2 separate regions of the Homo sapiens genome follow, and region 1 is linked to region 2. Evidence: promoter capture Hi-C in 16 types of primary human blood cells and fetal thymus (Javierre and others, 2016). All regions are on one chromosome and are shown on one strand. The core of a region is centred on a gene start or on the middle of the fragment in contact, and the rest is flanking DNA. Distances in the headings are between cores, read along the strand shown. Region 1 holds the start of MAGOHB (mago homolog B, exon junction complex subunit). Region 2 holds the start of LOH12CR2 (loss of heterozygosity on chromosome 12, region 2).

Region 1 (4,821 bases), core at 1-2,500, 1.7 Mb before region 2:
TTGTTAACACGTTGGGCTCCTCCCCTTCAAAGAAAACACACAGCCTAAATGAAAAAAAGGTACTGGTCACCACAAGATTTTATTCATCCACTGGACCACCCGCTGGTGGGGGTGTTTTCAAAAAAGTGCTAGCATTTTCAATCAGGGCGACGATCTAGAGTCCCTTCTGGTGCACTGTTACAGAATTCTGATTACTGTAGGTTCAACTTTTCAGTTTGTGACAGGATTAGCTTTAATTTATTGCAATTAATTCTCTTTCATTTATAAAACCAACTTATGCCTCCTCTATTCTTAAGCTCCTATTTCCTTCGAGGGAAGCAGTGGCCTCCGCCGCCTGTACCCTCCACACCACCCGGCCTCTCGGTCTCGCTCCCCTTTCCCAGCACCGCGTGCCGTGGGCCTCTTCTCACCGTCCGGCCGAAATTCGAACTCCAGAAACTCGTGCCCAAACTTGCCCTTGTGCCCTACGTAGTAGCGCAGGTAGAAATCGCTAGCCACAGCCATTTTTGTACCCGGGAAGCCCGCCGAAAACGCAGCCAACGTGTCCCCCGGCGCCTTGCAGTGACGTCATCGCGCGGAATAAGTGCGTCACCACAGGCGCTTCTCTTCCTCCTGCAGTGCAGCCCTAGACTAAAGCGTGAAAGCCGAGTATCGCGTGAGAGTCCGGAGGCGCTGAAGGGAGGGTCGCAGCGCCGTGACTTTCGCTTTACTAGGAATGGAGGCACATTGTTTTCAAAATAAAGATTACATTATACTAGCAAAGATTAGAAATGTGAGCATATGATAGTCTTTTTTATGGACTTAGAGCTAAAGGTTTGCAAGTCACTTTTACTTTTCTGGTCTCCCAATCCTTGCGGCGTTTGTGAGGTGGGTGTGGCTCTATGCCCCCTTTAACTGTGAGCTAAATAAAGATAAAGCTTAGAATCGAAATGGCAGACCGGGAATATAAACTATTTTTCTTACTTAATTTCTAACAGGGTGCTTTCCCTTTGGATAGCGATTGGTAGTTACCCGGGACCTCTAAGCCTATAATAATAGAGACAAAGTCAAAGGAATCCAACTCTTAAAACCCTCACACCCCCCACACCTGAAAAACCCTGACAGTCACCGTGCTTTTTTTAACAGCAGAACTTCTAAGGTTCTTAATTCATTCAATAAGGGTTAACTTTTAGTAGCCTGTGAAGTTTTGGCAATTTGACTTACGATACAATAATGGTTTAGCCCATTATTGTTTCTCGCCAGATAGAATTAAATTGGGGGAATGAAAGAATGCTCCAGTGTGGCGTAGTTTTTAAGGTAAGGGAAAGACTTTTACACAAAGTTTCCTTTTCAGATATTATTGATCACCCTTTTGTTATCAACACACAGAGTAATCCTATCTGTCGGTTGACAACCTTCAGTGATTTTTAGTAGAAAGTGGTGGAGAGAAGACCTGGGATTCAATCCCAACACTTAACAGCTAACTAACCTCGGGCAAGTGACTATCTCTAAGCCTGTTTGTTCATCAGCCTAATGCATATACAGCAATCTACATTGCCAAGCTCACAGAATTCTTGAGAGATCTAATGAGATAATATGTAAAATAAGCTTTAAATTTTATAAAACATTAGTTTTAACAAACATTTCCTATGTGACAGTTTGAAACTAGAAATAAGCCATTTGATCTGGTAGTCTAGAAAAGAAAGCAAACACGTAAGGCGAATACCAGCACAAGGGAGCAATTGCTATAATTAAGAATATATGTGCCATCCTGGCCAGCATGGTGAAACCCCGTCTCTATTAAAAATACAAAAAAATTAGCTGGGCGTGGTGGCGCGTGCCTGTAATACCAGATACGCGGGAGGCTGAGGCAGGAGAATTGCTTGAACCCTGGAGGCAGAGGTTTCAGTGAGCTGAGATCGTGCCACTGCATTCCAGCCTGGGCAACAAGAGCGAAACTCTGTCTCAAAAAAAAAAAAAAAAAAAAAAGAAAAAGAAAAGAAAGCCTATATGTGGCCGGGCGCAGTGGCTCATGCCTGTAATCCCAGCACTTTGGGAGGCCAAAGGGGGCAAATCACCCGAGGTCAGGAGTTCAAGACCAGCCTGGCCAACATGGCAAAACCTTGTCTTTACTAAAAATACAAAAATTAGCCAGGTTTGGTGGCACGTGCCTGTAATCCTAGCTACTCAGGAGGCTGAGGCAGGAGAATCGCTTGAACCCGAGAGGCGGAGATCGCGCAGTTGCACTCCAGCCTGGGTGACAAGAGCGAAACTTCGTCTAAAAAAAAAAAAGTGTGTAAAACATGCCGGTAGTACAGCAGAGGAAGCAAGAGCATTCTATTGCAGAGTAGGGAAATTTGAAAAAAGAGTATTGGAAAAGGCTTGTCAACGGAAGTGTTTGAATTGGACCTTGAGAAGTAAGTTCTGTGTATGTTCAGTGGGATGAAAAAGCATTCCAGGCAGAAAATGACCCGAGCAAAGACAGTGGTGTGAAAATTCATGTTTGGGGAACACTAAGAAATTCGGTATAGCTAGAGCATAAGGTTCAAGTAGAATGACTAAAAAGGCAAATTGGGCCACGTTTCCTTGAGTCCATATTAGTAGTTATATAACTATTAATATAGAAAAATGAATCAGTCCCTACAATGGGCCACCATTTTGGAAAGTACGTAAGAAACAGGAAGCACCATGTTTTACCACTAGGGTGACTAGCCGTTCCAGTTTGACCAGGACTGTGGAGTTTCCTGGGAAATGGGACTTTCCATACCTGGAAACACCCAGGCAAACTGAGATGGGTTGGTCACCACACTTACCACAAGAATAATTCACAGAAATTTGAACACTCTATTCCGTAGTATCTCTGGAAATATCAGCTGTAATCCATTTTGTTGAATTATATGGAAAGCCTCATTCAATATCTTAGATTCCCTAATGTCTCTCCTTCAGGTTTTTGGCACATGTGCCAATGTTCATCTTCATGTTTACCTAAATAGAACTATGGATACCAGAATGTGTAACTATATAAATAGAGGTTACAGAATGCACAAAGTATTAACATCTTTGTTAAGTGGGCCAGTTACTGTCTTGATCTCCAAAAATGACATAGGGGTTCAAGACTATAATCCTACCTGTTTGTAAGATAAAATATGAAACTATATTTACTTAACTCTCTATATTTTAAGCCAAAATTTGAACCTTTTGTATTGAAGCAAGAATTACAAAGTGATAAAGCATTTGCGTTGTGTTGTATTCTTGGATGGTACACAACAGTGATGTGGAAATGTTCTTCTGTATGGCTGCTGAGCCCTTGAAATGTGACTACTGTGACTTCGAACTGAATTCTTAATTGTGATTAATTTAGATTAACATTTAAATAAACACATGTGGCTAGAAGCTACTGTGTTGGTCAGCACAGTTAGAATCTTTTCATACACTTTTAGTTGGGCTAGAAATAGCAAAAAAAAAATTGTGAACATTTTCAAATTGCTTGTTGTAGGCTCCAAATTAGGACGTACTTACTGATATCAACACAGTTTACTTATGAAAATAAATATTTGAGCTGCTTAAGTGAAGCCAAAATACTGTTTCCACCTTTGCTAACACAGCGGTAAATTTCAAAGCACAAAGTGAAGTAGGTAAGAAATAAACGTTTTATTTCCATCTGAAATTAGGGCTTAATGATCAAATCATTCTGACTTCCAATTTTCAGAAACATGTTCCATGTTTATTGTGATAAGCACTAGGTATTATAGTCTCATGTTTTTAATTTATGAATAACGTCTGATTCATTTGATTTTGTATTTACAGAAGAAAAGATGTCAGGGCTATCTCATTCAGTTATTAATAAATGGATCAGAGTAGTAAGTCAAGAATAAGTGCATAATGTGGTTTAAATTTTAAAAAATACTCAGAATGAGGTAGTATTTTAATTTTTAATTCATCCACCCACCTTGCTCTTCTCTTTTCCATAATAGACTTCCCTGTGGACGTTAGCCTTATCTGTCTTTTTACCACTTAGTGGTATTAACTTTTTAAGTAAGAGAATCATGATCATGCAGAAACACCAAACTTTCCACACCATTCGTTATCACATATGTTCATATATGGCGAGAACTTGGAGCTACTTCTAGATTACCATGACATGATATATTTAATTCGATTGTTCAATCTAAAATTTTTTTCCAGCAAATGACAATATTATATGCTTCAAACACATAGCATAATCTCTAACTCTTTTCCCCAAAACGGGTAAACACAGTATGCTAAATTAAGGGTAATAGGATATCTTCCAGTCTTCCACTGTATTTGCTACTTATTTATTTCAGTAAGAGTGTTAAAGCAAAATTTAAAAAAATTATTGCAACAGAGTTAAGATTAAGAAATCTTAATTAACTGACTTTTTTTGTTTTAAAATGCTAAAAAAAAACCCACTACTATTATTTGATTTTAATAACAGAATACCTAAATCTGGCATAAAAAAACATAGTGTGCTCCATAAGCATAATTTAAGAACTACTGGTTCAGACTATTCTATTTTAAACGACGTTACCAAGTTTCCCTTAGACACTGTATCTAGGTGGGTGTTTGCGTTGTTCCTAAGTGTTGGAATTTTTTTTTAACAATAAAGCATAGATTGGAAAAACAAGACTGGAAGAGAAGGCAATCAAAACAATACAACAAAATCTATCTAGAGTCAACCCGATTAAATGATAAATATTTTGATTCTTTTTTTCATTCATTAGCTTGGAAACACCTAGTTTGGCTGAAAGGTCAATGATGCCAGAAATATCATCCTCCTTCTGGAAGAAGCCTGGCCAAGTGAGAGAAAGACCCAGTTTTCTT
Region 2 (5,331 bases), core at 223-2,722:
GGAGGGGATGCAAGGACTCTCCAAAAGGGAATGGTCTCACTGCTTAGTGGGCCCTTCCCAGTCCCATCAGCCTGGTGTGGTTTATGTAAACCTCAAGACTAGTTAGACACAACTTTCTAGAAGCCTGCCCTGATCTCTCAGGCAGTTTTTAGTTCTATCTTCATATTCCCAGAGAACACTGTACTTAGATTCATTTGCATTTTTCTCATTGTATTGCAATGGTGAGCAGAGGAAAGAGCATCAGATAGTCCTAAATAGTTCGACCACTGACCACCTGCTGACCATGGAGGAGTCACCTACTTACAGGCTGCAGGGTTGTTGTGAAAATTAAATAAGGTAAAATAGGGGAAATTATTGTGATATAGTAGAGTGGAAGGGACTTAAAAATCATTTAGTCAACTTGACACTTCTTCTGAGACTTTTTTTTTTTTTTTTTTTTTTGAGACGGAGTCTCGCTCTGTCGCCCAGGCTGGAGTGCAGTGGCGCGATCTCGGCTCACTGCAAGCTCTGCCTCCCGGGTTCACACCATTCTCCTGTCTCAGCCTCCCGAGTAGCTGGGACTACAGGCGCCCACCATCATGCCCGGCTAATTTTTTGTATTTTTTAGTAGAGACGGGGTTTCACCATGTTAGCCAGGATGGTCTTGATCTCCTGACATCGTGATCTACTCGCCTCAGCCTCCCAAAGTGCTGGGATTACAGGCGTGAGCCACCCCGCCTGGCCAGAGACTACATTTTATACATATAAAATCTCAAGGCATTTACTTGAAATTTCTTGACGCAGACAATGTAATATAAAATGAGTTGCAAAGTTCGGAGAACGCTAGAGCCAGCTAACTCCTTGATGGCATTGCATTGCTAGGTCTACTTTCTTGCCCTAGCAAAAATGGCAGTTTCCTTTCTGGATTACTCCCTCCTCACCTTCTGTTAGTTTCAGAGTGACTTGTTGATAACTGCCAAGGTCCCCAGAAAGCGCCTAGCCAAAAAGGTTCTTCACTTCTCTTTAAAGATGTGCACTCCCTAATACATGAAACAGCATTTTCTATTTCTTAATTTTTCTCTCATTTCCAGCTGCTGCTTTCACCGTCTTCTGGTATTTTTTTGTTTGGTCGTCCACTGCTAAACTCCCAGCTCTTCAGAATTCAAAATGAGCTTTGCATCCAAGCTGTTGTGGGTTCGAATCCTGGGTCTATCTAGCGTTTCTTTCTCCATCTGTAAAACAGGGTTAAAAATACCTATTTTGTAAAGTTGTTCTCACATGTGGGTATTGAAGAGCTTAATAGTGTGGGTGGTGTTTTAAAGGTGACGCATCCTTACAACAGGAAAGGGCTTACCCTCTTCCGCAGTTCTGGCTTCGAGGAGGTCAAGCCCTTTAAGGTGGCATCGCCCTAAGTCGCAGGAGCGGGTCTCTCCGCCCCTCCCTCGGGCCGGGGGGCGGGGCCTCCTAATCCGGAACTGAAGGTCTTGCGTAGCCGGCACCGCCCATCTGCGTCCCGGAAGGAGCGAGCTTGCGGAGCGTGAACCAGTGAGTGAAAGCGGCGCCGCCCGCCGGCCGCAGGTGCGGCAAAGCCAGTGTCATCTGCCGGTTCTCTTAGGGCTCCCGGAAAGAAGGAGGGCTAGCCGCGTGCGTTCGCGCCGCGCCTCCTTGCGTTTCTGTTCCCCAAATAGGGCCTCTCCTTCTCCCGCCGCCCAGGCCCCTGCGTGGGCTGGACGCGTCAGCCCCACACATTAGCCTCGCTGCGGCGCCCAGACTCTGCTTTGCCTCCCCGTCCCGGTCCCTGGCCCCTGCCCTGTCGCCCGCCGCCGGAGCGGTGACCGCCCGGCCCGCCGTTCTTCTGCTGCCACCGCTGTCGGCACCATGGGCAGTGAGCAGAGCTCCGAGGCCGAGAGCCGACCCAACGATCTGAACTCCTCAGGTCGGTGTCCTAACCTCCCACCCTCCTCCAGCCCGCCCTGTCCCCTTGCAGAGCGGGCTGCCTCCCAGACTAGGGTCAGGGACTGCGGACGGGAACGCACAGAAAAAGCCTTCACCGTGCTAGTAGGAAAAAAAAAAAGTCACCATCTGTCCTGGCCTCGATTCCCCTGATGGAAGTGCGTGTGACTGCAAGCTAAGCCAGCGTGGGCGCCAGTGCCCTTATTTATTTTCAAAACAGCCGTTTCTCCCAGCTACAGCCTCCTGTTTAAAAGACGAGCTAATTAATTTTTGGCTCTAGTGCTCATGGCTGATGTAGTGAGATTTGGCTCACACAGTGGATGGATTATAGGACCTCTAAGAACAGTCTGTTTCTTAAAAACGGGTGTTAGAGGTTCCTTTTCTGAAGGGATATGTGATAGGTGTCCACTTGCTTTGAACCCTTTAGTGCAAAGGTCTCCAGAAACAGCTTTTTCTTCTCAGAAGGTGTCTTGGTCCGTTTTCTAATCTTGTAGAGGTTGGCCAGACAGCAGGCACTGGTGTTTTCCATTGTTGTTCTCTGTCCATGATTTTTAGACTTCTCTAAGCGTTTGAGACAAGAATGGGAGGATTATTGTGTTTGCAATACAGTGAGTGTTCAATAAATAGATAAAGCAGCTGATGTTTAATTGAGGACCATTTGCTGCTTTTTTTGTTACCCACACGCTAGGACAGCTGGGAGTGCTTTGGTTAAGCTCCGGGGTTGCTAACGCAAATTGGTTAAATCTGGGGCCTAAAAAGAGTCGCCGATTTTAGAAGTTCTCTGTTCTTGATAGGAGCTGTAATTCAGAAATAGGCAAGCTAATAGATCTAAGGGTGTTTCACTTTAAGGTGTGACTTTCAAGACTAGTTCAGACCTACATTCTGGGGACTGGATTGGGGCAGCTTTGAATGGTGAGCAGCATCTACTAGCTTTGCTACGTTTTTCTATTTCCTTGGAAGGGCCAGAGTGTCATATCTGTTATAAGAAATATAATAATTGCCACCTTTGACATTCTTGCCTCTATGGCAGGGCAGAAACATATTTTAGGGGGAAGCGGTGTGGCATCTTTTTAATTTGTTTTCTTGCCCATGAACCAACAGCATTCGAGCATTTCCGATGTTAGAATTTGCCTATTCCCCTGTGCCCGGTACTTTACATACATTTACATATAATTTTTGCAGTAATCCCATTTTACAGATAAAGTAGTAGAGGTTAGCTAGAGTGTTTTGAAGTCCCCTTTCCTCTGGTATCTGGGGAAGGAGGAATCACAATTTATAGCAGGAAAGATTTCTGGCATGGCTTTTGTAAAATGTTAGGTAAATTACCAAAACAGGTAAATAAATATTTCTTGAAAAGAAATAAAAGCAGCAGAGATTTTTCTAGAAGAGTGAATGCCAAGCCTCCGGAGACGAGCTTCTAGGAGGCAGAACAGTTCTATGGCATCCCTGGATTAACCTTTGAGATATGACTATAATGAGCCTGGGAATATTACCTTCTAGAGCATAAAACACTTTAAAGATTCATTCTTGTCCCAGTCTGGAAGATATTTGGGGGAGAGGATGATTTCTTGGTCTAGGGAGTCCTTTATAATTTGAATCACTTCCCTCCAAATGGATTACTTTCTCCCAAGGAACCTGAATTGATCTCCCTCTTTGTCCTCCAAATTTCTGATTTTTGCCTCAGCCTAGAATGGACTTACTGGCTATTTTTGCCCTGGACTAATGCTATAATTTTAAGAGTGAGGGGGCTGTAGTCCTAGCTACTCAGGCCCAGGTGGGAGGATTGCTGGAGCCCAGGAGTTTAAATCCAGCCTGGGCGATGTAGTGAGACTTGACTCTTTTTTTTTTTTTTTTTTTGAGACAGTCTCACTGTCACCTAGGCTGGAGTGCTGTGGCATGATCTTGGCTCACTGCAACCTCCGCCTCCCGGATTCAAGCAATTTTCCTGCCTCAGCCTCCCAAGTAGCTGGGATTACAGGGACATGCCACCACGCCTGGATAATTTTTGTATTTTTAGTAGAGATAGGGTTTCACCATGTTGGCCAGGCTGATCTCGAACTCCTGACCTCAAGTGATCCACCTGGCTTGGCCTCCCAAAGTGCTGGGATTACAGGCGTGAGCCACCGTGCCCAGCCGCCTTGACTTAAAAAAAAAAAAAAAAGAGTGAGGAGGCTGAAGCCTCGGGAATAGGCCAGTCATTCGGGGGTTGAGAACAGGTTTTTTTCCTGGACTTACTAAACATAGCTGGCTTGATGTGGTAGGGTGGATAGACAGCTTTGCAACTCCAGTGTCGCAGAGATGGGCCTTGTGTACCAATAACTTGTAGATGTCTAATTCCTTTCCTAACTGTCTAGCACTGCTGACTTTGGGCAAGTCACAGTTAAATTTTGTACCCTTTATTTCTCATTTTAGAAATAGGGAGATATATATATATATCTCAAGATAGCAGGAGAATTAAAGAGAAAGTAAAAACAATCTGCCTATACTTTTGTGTGCTGAAAAAGAAAATATTTAGTTATGAAAGAAGTTCATTCATGTTATATAATCCTGTAATGGGCTGGGCGTGATGGCTCACACCCGTAATTCTAGCACTTTGGGAGGCCGAGGTGGGTGGATCACGAGGTCAGGAGTTCGAGACCAGCCTGGCCAATATGGTGAAACCCCATCTCTACTAAAAATACAAAAATTAGCCAGATGTGGTGGTGCATGCCTGTTGTCCTAGCTACTCAGGAAGCTGAGGCAAGAGAATTACTTGAACCCAGGAGGCGGAGGTTGCAGTGAGCCGAGATTGCACCACTGTACTCCAACCTGGCGACAGAGCGAGGCTCTGCCTCAAAATAAAATAAAATCCTGTAATGTCTGAGGGTTTTTGTTGTTGTTGTTGTTTTGTTTTTTGAGACTCTTGCTGTCTTACCCATGCAGTGGTGTGATCATGGCTCACTGTGGTCTTGACCTCCTGGGCTCAAGTGATCCTCCCATCTCAGCTTCCTGAGTAGCTGGGACTACAGTGTGCACCACCACATCTGACTAATTAAAAGAAATTTTTTTTTTTTTTTTTTTTTTTTTTAGAGATAGGGTCTCACTATGTTGCCCAGGTTGGTCTTGAACTCCTGGACTCTGGTGATCCTCCCACTCAGCCTTTCAAAGTGCTGAGATTACAGGCATGAGCCACCACACCCAGCCTGAGGTGGCGTTTTTGTTTGTTTGTTTTTGAGACAGAGTCTCACTCTGTTGCCCAGGCTCAAGTGCAGTGGCACGATCTTGGCACACCGCAACCTCCGCCTCTCGGGCTCAAGTGATTCTCCTGCCTCAGCCTCCTGAGTAGCTGGGATTACAGGCACCCGCCACCATGCCCCGCTAATTTTTGTGTTTTTAGTAGAGACAGGGTTTCGCCATGTT

Evidence for each region. Contacts are between HindIII fragments. The CHiCAGO score rates a contact against its expected background, and 5 or more counts as called.
Region 1: a contact is called between a fragment that was not itself captured here and the fragment with the promoter of LOH12CR2 in region 2, in 1 of 17 cell types (total B cells). The highest score is 5.6, in total B cells.

Annotation. Positions count from the first base shown.
Region 1 is chr12:10,613,029-10,617,849 of GRCh38, forward strand. It overlaps MAGOHB (mago homolog B, exon junction complex subunit), which reads right to left and starts at 581. Exons shown (of 5, transcript NM_018048.5): 1 at 411-581. The coding sequence starts at 504. RefSeq lists enhancers at 1-517, 302-701, 518-1,395. The HindIII fragment of the contact is 670 bases long and covers 916-1,585 here.
Region 2 is chr12:12,355,595-12,360,925 of GRCh38, forward strand. LOH12CR2 (loss of heterozygosity on chromosome 12, region 2) reads right to left here and starts at 1,473. Exons shown (of 2, transcript NR_024061.1): 1 at 1,334-1,473; 2 at 1-1,211. It overlaps BORCS5 (BLOC-1 related complex subunit 5), which reads left to right and starts at 1,484. Exons shown (of 4, transcript NM_058169.6): 1 at 1,484-1,915. The coding sequence starts at 1,858. RefSeq lists enhancers at 1,269-1,947, 2,834-2,913 and a silencer at 1,814-1,893. The HindIII fragment of the contact is 7,691 bases long and covers 1-5,331 here.